Regions from separate parts of the Homo sapiens genome. Here region 2 is linked to region 1. Evidence: promoter capture Hi-C in 16 types of primary human blood cells and fetal thymus (Javierre and others, 2016). All regions are on one chromosome and are shown on one strand. The core of a region is centred on a gene start or on the middle of the fragment in contact, and the rest is flanking DNA. Distances in the headings are between cores, read along the strand shown.

What was found. The method cuts DNA at HindIII sites, captures the fragments that hold promoters and counts their contacts. A CHiCAGO score of 5 or more calls a contact.
Region 2: a contact is called between a fragment that was not itself captured here and the fragment with the promoter of COG7 in region 1, in 1 of 17 cell types (endothelial precursors). The highest score is 9.1, in endothelial precursors.

The regions. Positions count from the first base shown.
Region 1 is chr16:23,451,058-23,456,726 of GRCh38, forward strand. It overlaps COG7 (component of oligomeric golgi complex 7), which reads right to left and starts at 2,132. Exons shown (of 17, transcript NM_153603.4): 1 at 1,769-2,132. The coding sequence starts at 1,937. It overlaps LOC124903667 (a long non-coding RNA gene), which reads left to right and starts at 1,686. Exons shown (of 2, transcript XR_007065030.1): 1 at 1,686-2,208; 2 at 4,413-4,732. RefSeq lists enhancers at 1,792-2,121, 2,412-2,461. The HindIII fragment of the contact is 18,303 bases long and covers 1-5,669 here.
Region 2 is chr16:23,169,850-23,175,518 of GRCh38, forward strand. No RefSeq gene overlaps it. Among named protein-coding and RNA genes, the nearest start is that of SCNN1G, 10 kb to the right of the region's middle. RefSeq lists an enhancer at 2,379-2,880. The HindIII fragment of the contact is 2,672 bases long and covers 1,865-4,536 here.

The DNA.
Region 1 (5,669 bases), core at 882-3,381:
GGGCACGCACCTGTAATCCCAGCTACTCAGGAGGTAGAGGCAGGAGAATAACTTGAACTCAGAAGGGGGAGGTTGCAGTGAGCTGAGATGGCGCCACTGCACTCCAGCCAGGGGGAAAGAGCGAGACTTCGTCTCAAAAAAAACAAAAAAACAAACAAAAATGGGAACATCTCTTGGACTATCCACTCCCAGTGGAAGCAGTCTGTTTGGTCTTTCCATCTGAGCCTAGGAGAGAGACTTGTGTGCAGTACGTACTGAATCAACACACAGTGAATCAACACACGGTGAATAAAAGTCAAGTTGAGGAGTTACATGAAATGGTTGCCAGTGCATGTTATTTTTTATAATTTAACTTATCCTCAACAAATGGTTTAGGCCAGGCGTGGTGGCTCACACCAGTAATCCTAGGGCTTTGGGAAGCCAAGATGGGAGGATCACTTGAGGTCAGAAATTTGAGATCAACCTGGGCAACATAGTGCGACCTTGTCTCTAAAAAAAAATTTTTTTTTTTAATTAGCCAGGCATGGTGGCACATGCCTATAGTTCCAGTTACTTGGGAGGCTGAGGCGAGCGGACTGCTTGAACCCAGAGTTTGAGGCTGCAGTGAACTATGATGGTATCACTGCATTCCAGCTTGGGCAGCAGAATGAGGAATGAGACCCTGTCTCAAAAAAAAAAAAAAAAAAAAGGTTTAAGTCTCCACTGAGACCAGCCTATCTTCCTCAGCTGAAATAAAATCCACTAAAACAATGTTTTCTAGATCTGTGTCATTCTCTTATACCTATACTATAATACGTTTTTTCCAGATATATGGATCTGTTGGCTATTCTTTCATACTCTCAAAATTCACTTTTTTTTTCTTTTTACAGTTTATTGTTTGGTACAAAACAGGCTCTTTAACTCTTTGAATAAACACCTCACAGACTCGTGCTCCTAGATTACAAAAAGTCAAAGCCAATTTTCTTTGACACTGGGCTCTTGACTCTGAGATTCAAGTCACTATAACAGAAACTGGAGTTGTTTTATCTTATATTCTGGAAGGTGCCTCAACAAAGACATGTTAAGAACTGGTTAAAACTTCTAGCATTTAAAAAGATCCATCTTGTCTTCCAGTGCCTATGGATAATAATAAAAAGGGAATCCCAGAGATCTGCTATTGAATTATTTAGAGAAGAGCTACTGCAATAAGATCCACTCTTTTAAGTTCCAAAAGGAAACTTCAGGCCAGATGTGGTGGCTCACAGGTATAATCACAGTACTTTGGGAGGCCAAGACTGGAAAACCCATTATGCCCAGGAATTTGAATTTGAGACCAGCCTGGCAACACAGTGAGATCCCATCTCTACAATTTTTTTTTTAAACAGAATTTGTGGGGCGCGGTGGCTCGCGCCTGTAGTCCTAGCGACTCGAGAGGCGAGAGGATCGCTTGAGTGCAGGAGTTCGAGGCTGCAGTGAGCTATGATCGAGCCACTGTAGAGAGACCCTGTTTCAAAAGAAAAAACAAAGAGAAAGAAAGAAAAGAAAAAGGAAACTTATAGCCCAGCCAGAGGAGGAAAAACAACACCCAAAATTAGCAAGTGTTCAAGACAGCCCGGCACCCAGCTGAGACTCCCGCTGACGTGATCAGGAGTTCGGGGCTTGCTCTTTTGCCGAGGGTATTTGCTGTCCATGCGTGCCCCGCCCACCTGAGTGCCTCACGCAAGTTCGGTGACCTCTGCCCAGCCGAGAGCAGGGGAGGGTCCCGCGGCCAGGGCCCCGAGCGGCTCACCCTCCACGGCGTGGTTCACCTCTTGGATGAACAGCTGCAGCTTCATCACCAGGGTGGCTGCGTGGCCATCCGCCTTCCCGGACGCCGCCTCCTTGGAGCCGGCCCTGAAGGCCGCATTGATCCACTCCTTCACGTCGAAGTCGTCTGCCAGGAACTTGGAGAAGTCCATGGCGGAACTGCCTCAGGCCTGGCGTCCAGAACTTAAGAGTTGGCTCCGGGCGGCAACGGGGATGCAGAAGCGAGCGAGCCTGCGAGAGCACCGAGGCTAGCCTCCGAGGCGAACCCCAGAAACGCCAGGACGGGTAACTTGCCCCTTTGCGCTTCCCCGCTCAGCGCACTCAGTTTGCGGCTGGGAATGACCCTCGCCGCCCGCCGTTCTTCTTCCGGAAGTCGTTGGCCGTTACCATAGTGACTGCAGGCGTCCGGAGCGCTGAGCAGAGGTGGGTGTGGGAAAACGCCCCGGACTGAGAGCTCCCGGCACCGACAAATATCCCATGTCTGCTAACATTTGCCGAGGACTAAACTATATGCTTACTATAAAGCCCTGACATACATTAGCGCATTTACGCGGTGGCTCGCGCCTGTAATCCCAGCTCTTTAGGAAGCTGACGCGGGAGAATCGCTTGAGGCCAGGAGTTCTAGGACAGCCTGGGCAACAGTGGAGCGCAGTGGGCAGCAATGGAGTGCAATTGAACGATCTCTGCTCACTACAGCCTCAAATTCCTGGGCAATTGAACGATCTCAGCTCACTGCAGCCTCAAATTTCTGGGCTCCAGCGATCCTCCCACCTCAGCCTCCAGAGTAGCTGGGACTACAGGCGCGCGACAACACGCCCGGCTATTTCTTTCTTTTTCTTTCTTTCTTTATTTTTTTCTGAGACGGAGTCTTGCTCTGTCGCCCAGGTTGGAGCGAAGTGACGCGATCTCGGCTCACTGCAACCTCCGCCTCCCAGGTTCAAGCGAGTGTCTTGCCTCAGCCTCCCGAGTAGCTGGGATTACAGGCGCGTGCCACCACGCCCGGCTACTTTTTGTATTATTAGTAGAGATGGGGTTTCACCACGCTGGCCAGGCTGGCCTCAAACTCCCAACCTCAGGTGATCCGCCTGCCTCGGCCTCCCAAAGTGTTGGGATCACAGGCGTGAGTCACCGCGCCTGGCCTAACTAATTATTTTCTTAATGATGTGTTTTGAGGTGCAGACCTTTTAAAGTTTGTTAAGTTCCTTATCACCTTTTTTTATGGATCATGCTTTTGGTGTTGCGGCTGAGAAATCTGTGCATAACCCATAATCACAAACAATTTCTCAGCCTGGGCAACATAGGAAGACCCCGTCTCTGCAAAAAAATTAAAAATTAGCTGAGTGTGGTGGCGCACACCTGTAGTCTCAGCTACTCGAGAGGCTGGGGTGAGAGGATTGCCTGAGCCCAGGAGGTCGAGGCTGCAGTGAGCTGTGATCACGCCACTGCACTCCAGCCTGGGTGACAGAGCGAGACCCTGTCTCGAAAAGAAAAGAAGAAAAGGTAGGGGAAGGTATGAGGGTATTCTTTAGGTTCTAAGTTTTTATGTTGTTTCAAGAGTGGGACCAACCCAAGGGGGAGGACAAGATGTCATCCTTGGAAACCCTACAGGGGACAGTTTTCCAGGTTGGCCTGCCATTGGGGTATGAGTGGCTGGCTGCCATCTCCAGGCCTGATAGTCACTCGTTTTTCATTGGCATCTCCCTTGGTTTGTCTCATTCTTCTGGGTTGAGTAGGTTTTAACTGGGGTAACCCTTCTGCTAGGAGTCCCAGTTATTTGGGGGGAGGGGAGAGGAGGGAAGGAGAGAGGAGGGGAGCAATGCAGGGAGGGGAGACGAGGGGAGCAATCTGATAGTGTAAGTCCTCTTACTTTGCTCTTGTTAAAAATTTAGGCAGGACACAGTGGCTCACGCCTGTAATCCCAGCACTTTGGGAGGCCGAGGCAGGCAGATGATGAGGTCAGGAGTTTGAGACCAGCCTGACCAACATGGTCAAACCCCATCTCTACTAATAATAAAAAAATTAGCTGGGCATGGTGGCACGCGCCTGTAATCCCAGCCACTCAGGAGGCAGAGGCAGGAGAATCGCTTGAACCTAGGAGGCAGAGGTTGCAGTGAACCGAGATCCGCCACTGCACTCCAGCCTGGGCAACAGACCGAGACTCCATCCCCCCCAAAAAAAAAAAAAATCCTGCTGGGATTTTGACAGGGATTATGTTGAACTGTTGAATTGTTGGATTAATTTTAGGAGAATTGCCATCATGACAATATTGACTGTTCCAATCCATAGCATGAAACGCCTCTTCATTTATTTAGATGGGAATTTTTCAGCCTTGGCACTACTGAGCCCAGATAATTTTTAGTTATGGGGGCTGTCCTATGCATTGTAAGATATTTCGCAGCATCCCTGGCCGCTACCCATTAGGAGCAACATCCTCTCCAAGTTGTGGCAACCAAAAATCTGTCCACACAGTGCCAAGTGTTCCCTAGTAGGAATCACCCCTGGGGATTTAGATCTGATTTAGATCTTCTTTAATTTCTCTCAGCAATATTTTGTAGTTTTCATTGTATAATACAAGTCTTGCACTTATTTTGTTAAATTTATTTATTTATAAGTATTTCCTTTTCTAGGTGCAGTGGCTCATGCCTGCAATCCCAGCACTTTGGGAGGCCGAGGCAGGAGGATCACAAGGTCAGGAGTTCCATACAAGACTAGCCTGCCCAACATGGTGAAACCCCGTCTCTACTGAAAATACAAAAACAGCCTGGCGTGGTTGTGTGCACCTGTAATCCCAGCTACTCAGGAGGCTGAGGCAGGAGAACTGCTTGAACCCGGGAGGCAAAGGTTGCAGTGAACAGAGATCGGGCCACTGTTATCCAGCCTGGGTGACAGAGTGAGACTCCATCTCAAAAAATAAATAAATAAAATAAGTATTTCCTTTTAATGCTAACATGAATGGAATTTTCTTAATTTTCATAGTTTCTTGTTACAGAAAAATGATTTTGTGTGTGTGTGTGTGATGGAGTCTTGCTTTGTCACACAGGCTGGAGTACAGCAGGGCAATCTCAGCTCACTGCAACCTCCGTCTCCCAGATTCAAGCAATTCTCCTGCCTCAGCCTCCCAAGTAGCTGGGATTACAGGCATGTGTCACCACACCCAGCTAATTTTTGTAGAGACGAGGTTTTGCCATGTTGGCCAGGCTGGTCTTGAACTTCTGACTTCAGGTGATCCACCTGCCTCAGCCTCCCAAAGTGCTGGGATTACAGGCGTGAGCCACCACACTCAGCAACAATTGATTTTTATAGATTTATCTTGTACCATTTGACTGTTAAATTTGTCTTCTAGTTTGTGTGTTGGGGTGTTGGTTGGGATTTGTTTACATACAGGATCATGTCATCTGTGAATAGACACTTTTTCCTTTGCAATTTTTTTTTGGGGGGGCGGGCGCGGGGGGACGGAGTTTTGCTTTTTTTGCCCAGGCTGGAGTGCAATGGCGCAATCTCGGCTCACTGCAACCTCCGTCTCCCGGGTTCAAGCGATTCTTCTGCCTCAGCCTTCCAAGTAACTGGGATTAGAGGTGCCCACCACCACATGTGGCTAATTTTTCATATTTTTACTAAAGACGGGGTTTCACCATGTTGGCCAAGCTGGTCTCGAACTCATGACCTCAGGTGATCCACCTGCCTCTGCCTCCCAAAGTGCTGGGTTACAGGCGTGAGCCACCGCACCCGGCCAGAAGTCCCTTTCTATTCCTAGTTTGTTGAGAGTTTTTTTAGGATGTTGGATTTTGTATTTTTTTTTCTCTGCCTATTGAGATAATCATGTGGTTCTTGTCACATTCTATTCAAATGATATAGTAATTGATTTTAAGATGGCAAATGAATCT
Region 2 (5,669 bases), core at 1,951-4,450, 280 kb before region 1:
CCACACAGGTCACATACCCATGAAGGTGGTCCTGTGCCTATCATTCATAACCAAGTTCTAGCCCACATGGAATATACAAATTGTAATATAACTGTCTCTGACTGGTCCATTCAGCCCTCCAGCCTGCATTTCCATTGTCTGAGACAACCTCTTTCTCAAGCACAGTCTTTTGGAGACAGAGGAGATGACCATAACCCAAATCAGAACTGGTTCTATTATTTTACTCACTTGTTCACTCACAAAATATGTGTTGAGCTCCCATTGTGTGCCAGGCACTGTTCTTCAGATTGAGGATAGAGCAGTGAACAAAAGGCAGAAATGCCTGCTCTGGAGAAGCCTGCATTCTAATGTAGAAAGACAGACAACTAACAAGTAATAGATACATTGTGTCAGACGGAAATTGATGCTATGCAGAAAGACAAACATCACATGTTCTCCCTTATTTGTGGAATCTAAAAATTAGAACAATTGAACTCATGGACATAGAGAGTAGAAGGATGGTTACCAGAGACTGGGAAGGGTGGTGGGGTGGGATGGTTAATGGGTACAAAAAAATAGAAAGAATGAATAAGACCTATTATTTGATTGCACAACAGGGTGGCTAAAGTCAAGAATAACTTTTTTTGGGGACAGGATCTCACTCTTGCCCAGGCTGGAGTGCAATGGCACAATCTCGGCTCACTGCAACCTCTGTCTCTCAGGCTGAAGTGATCCTCCTGCCTCAGCCTCCTAAGTAGGTGGGACGACAGGTGTGTGTCACCACACCTGGCTAATTTTTGTATTTTTAGTAGAGATGGGGTTTTGCCGTGTTGCCCAGGCTGGTCTTGTACTCCTGAGCTCAAGCAATCCAGCCACCTCAGCCTCCCAAAGTGCTAGGATTACAGGCATGAGCCACTGCACCCGGCCTAAAGTCAATAATAATTTAACTGTACATTTTAAAATAAAGAGTGTCATTGGATTGTTTGTAACTCAAATGATAAATGCTTGAAGGGATGGATATTCCATTATCCATGATGTGCTTATCTCACATTTCATGCCTGTATCAAAACATCTCATGTACCCCATAAATATATGCACATACTATGTACCAACAAAAATTAAAAATTACATAAAAATAAAGAAACCTATATCATAGATGTAAATTATTAGAAATATATATATATACTTAAAAGCAAAAAAAATTTAAACAGAAAATTGGCACTATGGAGAAAATAAAGCTGGACAGGGAAACTAAAGAAAATGTACATGGGGTTGAAATTTTAAATAGCGTGGTTATGAATAAATAGCAATGGTCCCTTGCTGGGAGAGTGACTCTTGAGCAAAGATCTGAGGGAGGTGAAATAGGGAGCCAGGCAAAAATCAGGAGGGAGAGCATTCCAGTCAGAGCAGAGCCAACTCCAAAGGCTTTCAGAAAGGAACGTGCCTGGATGAGTTTGCAAAACAGCAAGGAGGCCAGAGTGGCTAGAGAGAAATAAACACAGGGTGAATAGTAGGATTTGAGGTTTGAGTGGTACCGAGATAGGAACAGCACTGGGTGATCACAGGAGGATGGAAAAGCCCAAACAACAGCTCAAACAAGAACTAGGCAAAGAAACCACAGGATAACCGAAAACACAAAAGAAGGGAGAGAAAATGGCCAAAACCCTGGTCAGGATGACGTGTCCATGACTCTTCCAGGCAAACACGTAGGCAGTAATTGGGGTCCCTGAAATTTCCTCCTTTTGCAGAATACCTACTGATTATTCCAACCCCTAATTGAAGAGACACCCATAGAATTAGAAACCCAAACTCCATCGTGTGAGATTCGTTCTCCCAAGCATGCCCGCCCTTCTCTCTTAAGTGTGTGTTCCCACTTTGCAATAAAAGCTTCTTGCTTCATTCTGACTCATCCCTGAATTTTTTCTCCCGACAGTGTAAAGAATCTGGCCAGTGGCTAGGACTGAGGCCTCAGCGGCATCGGGAGACCTTCCTGAGCCTTCTGGCAACATTACTAAATCATGTAAGGCTCCAGGATAGACCATATGACAGGCCACAAAACAAGCCCAACCAAGTACATTTAAAAGATTGAAATCATGCAGTGCCAGAGGTCTCTAATGGGATGCCCATCTCCCATGAAATGCCATTCACAATGTTGAAATGAATACAGTAAGGAGGATGAAGGAGTGAAAGGGACATTGTCCAGCCAGCCTATTCAGTGTGTATAGATGAGTGATATCATGGTCAGATTACCTTTAGAACCGGACATGCACAATTTTTTTCTTTTTTTTTTTTTTTGAGATAGAGTCTAGCTCTGTCACCCAGGCTGGAGTGCAGTGACACCATCTCGGCTCACAGCAACCTCTGCCTCCTGGGTTCAAGCGATTCTCCTGCCTCAGGCTCCCAAGTAGCTGGGACTACAGGCACTCACCACCATGCCAGGTTAATTTTTGTAGTTTTAGTAGAGGTAGGGTTTCACCATATTGGTCAAGCTGGTCTCGCACTCCTGACCTCAGGTGATCTGCCTGTCTCAGCCTCCCAAAGTTCTGGGATTACTGGCATGAGCCACCACGCCTGGCCTATTCTTGCTGTTGTGGATAGCTATGTTCTATAAAGTTGCCACAAACACTGACTTAGTGAATACTGAACCATTCTTTCTTCTTCTTTTTTTTTTTTTTTTTTTTGGCAGGTTTCAAAAACTCGCTTTATTCCAATGTAAAATGAAGACATGATGGTTTAAAAACAAGAAAAGTTATTGATCAACTGTGAGGATGCTTTTGCTCACGTCCACCGCCTTTGAAACAACATGCCTGGACAGACCACACCCATAAGCAGCTCTCCGCAAAGACCCAGGCAGATGCCCCAGCCCCCTCCAGCTCACAAGGCAGCCAGCTACTCCTTCATCAGAGCTCCAACAGCAGGCACAGAGAAGCAGCACGGGCAGCGGGGAGGGGAAGCAGTGGGGCCTGTGGGGGCCCCCGCCACCCACAGAGCTAGTCTCTGTAGAAGGTGCTGTGTGGCAAGGACCAGGAAGGGAACTGCGCTACAGAGAGCTGACATCACTTCTGCATCTTTAACTTTCCCCAGGATCCAAGATTCAGCCCTGCTTCCCCCAGCCCCTCCCCAGCCCCACTGTGCATTAGGCAGCTCAGGTTAAAATGGGGAGAAGGTCAACCATTGCTTCTAGACAAAATACAGAGTTAGGTTTCCGAGAGCCTCTGGTCACAACATTTTCATCAACTGATCAATATGTAACTTTGCTTTATGTGTGTTTCTGTTTAAAGTCACCTTATTTAATATGTAGTTGATGCAATAACATTGACATCATGGCCAACATTACTATAATTCATGCCTTAATAAAGCCTGTCTAACATATGCCTTTCTCAGTAAGGCACATACAGTCTTGCTGTGCTTAGGAATACTAGATAGCACTTCGCACTACACTTGGGGGCCGTTGTACTCTAAGCACAATTTAGTGGAATTGTAAATCAGTGACAGAAAGAAATTTGGGAAATTCACAAATATGTGACAATTAAGACACTCCCAAATAAATATTGGATCAAAAAAGAAACCACCGGCTGGGCATGGTGGCTCATGCCTGTAATCCCAGCACTTTGGGAGGCTGAGGAGGGCAGATCATGAGGTCAGGAGTTCAAGACCAGCCTGGCCAACATAGTGAAATCCCATCTCTACTAAAAATACAAAAAATCAGTAGAGCGTGTTGGCAGAAGCCTGTAATCCCAGCTACTTGGGAGGCTGAGGTAGAATTGCTTGAACCTGGGAGATGGAAGTTGCAGTGAACAGAGATTGCATCATTGCACTCCAGCCTGGGTGACAGTGCAAGACTCTGTCTCAAAAAAAAAAAAATTAAAAAATTAAAAAATAAACCAACAGAGAAATTAGAAAATATTTTGAGGTGAGTAAAAATGACACAACATATAAAAATTAGAGGATGTAGCTTAAGCAGTTATTAGGGAGAAATTTACAGCTGTGAACACCTACATTAAAAAAGAAGAAAGATCTCAAATCAATAACCTAACTCTACACTCTCAGACTCAAGAAAAGGGAGAGTGAATGAAATCATGTAGGGCCTTATGGGCCATTGTAAGGACATCATCTTCCATAACCTCTGAGTATCTTTTGTGTTCTGAGACTTGGAGAAAAATCCAAAAGATGAAGAACAAACCCACGGGCTTAAAGAAAACTAAAAAAAAACCCAGTCAATTCTCATTATTCATGGATTTCATATTTCACTAGAATTTATTTGTAACCCTAAAATCAATACTTGCAATGCCTTTAGGGACATGTGCCAAGCAGCAAAAATTTTAGTCACCCACTGTGCTTGTTCCCAGCTGAGGTCAAATAAGGCAACACTCTACCCTCTTGTTTCAGCTCTTATACTGTAAACTCATGTCCTTTTTTGCAGCCTATATAGGCTGCCACAATTTTCACATTTTTGTTTTGTTGGTGAGTTTGCTCCCTAGCGCTGAAGTGCTATCTAATATTCCTAAGCACAGGAAGGCTGTATGTGCCTTACTGAAAAAATATATGTGTTAGGTAAGCTTTATTCAGGCATGAGTTATATAGTGCTGTTGGCCATTATTTCAATGTTATTGAATCAACTATATATTAAACAAGGTGACTTTAAACAAGAACACACATAAAACAAAGTTACGTATCGATCAGTTAATGACAACGTTGTGACCAGAGGCTCTCGGGAACCGAACTCTATATTTCTTCTAGAAGCAATGGTTCAGTATTCACTAATTCAGTGTTTGTGGCAGCTTTATAGAACATAGCTAGCCCAAATAGCAAGAATTGATTGTACATGTCCAGTTCTAAAGGTAATCTGACCATGATATCTCTCATCCACACAGACTGAATAGACTGGCTGGAGAATGCCCCTTTCACTCCTTCATCTATTCATTCCAAAATTGTGAATTGCATGTCATGGGCGATGAGGCTTCCACTGGAGACCTCCTGCATAAAAGGAGAAACTATGGCTGCTGTCCGCAGTGCTGATATCTAAAGCCAGCTTCTCTCAAGAGAAGCAGCATCAAAAAAATTGAAATCCACACAACTGAATCTGAGGACCCTGGTTCCTACTCCCCAAAGGTCAAAGACAGTAGGTTGCCCCAAAAGACTAAGTCATTAAGAATGCATGAAGAGAGAGCATTAATCCCATCTTGGTGGGGCAAGATAACATCCACAAGAACTGAGGGACATCATTCTAGATTTGTAGGAATCCTGGAAAGAGTCAAACTTGGGAGCAAGATTACTTATCTCCTCTGGATCCCACATTTAGCCAACCCTGTGCCACAGATGCCTAAGCCTTAGTAGCAGCTTAACCAAGTTTTCTAAGCCACTTTATATATCTTTATATCTCCTCTGACTCTATGGAAGTTTTGAGATCTCCTGCTATCTCTTGTGACTAGCCTCCTGAGACCCTGAACCCCAGCAGTGATCCTCTAAGGACCAGAAACTCTACAGAGGTATTGCAAAAACGTTCCAACGCTGGGCGTGGTGGCTCACGCAGCCCTTTGGGAGCAGCACTTTGGGAGGCCGAGGTGGGCGGATCACGAGGTCAGGAGTTCGAGACCAGCCCGACAAACATAGTGAAACCCCGTCTCTACTAAAATATATACAAAAAAATTAGCCGGGCGTGGTGGCACATGACTGTAATCCCACCTACT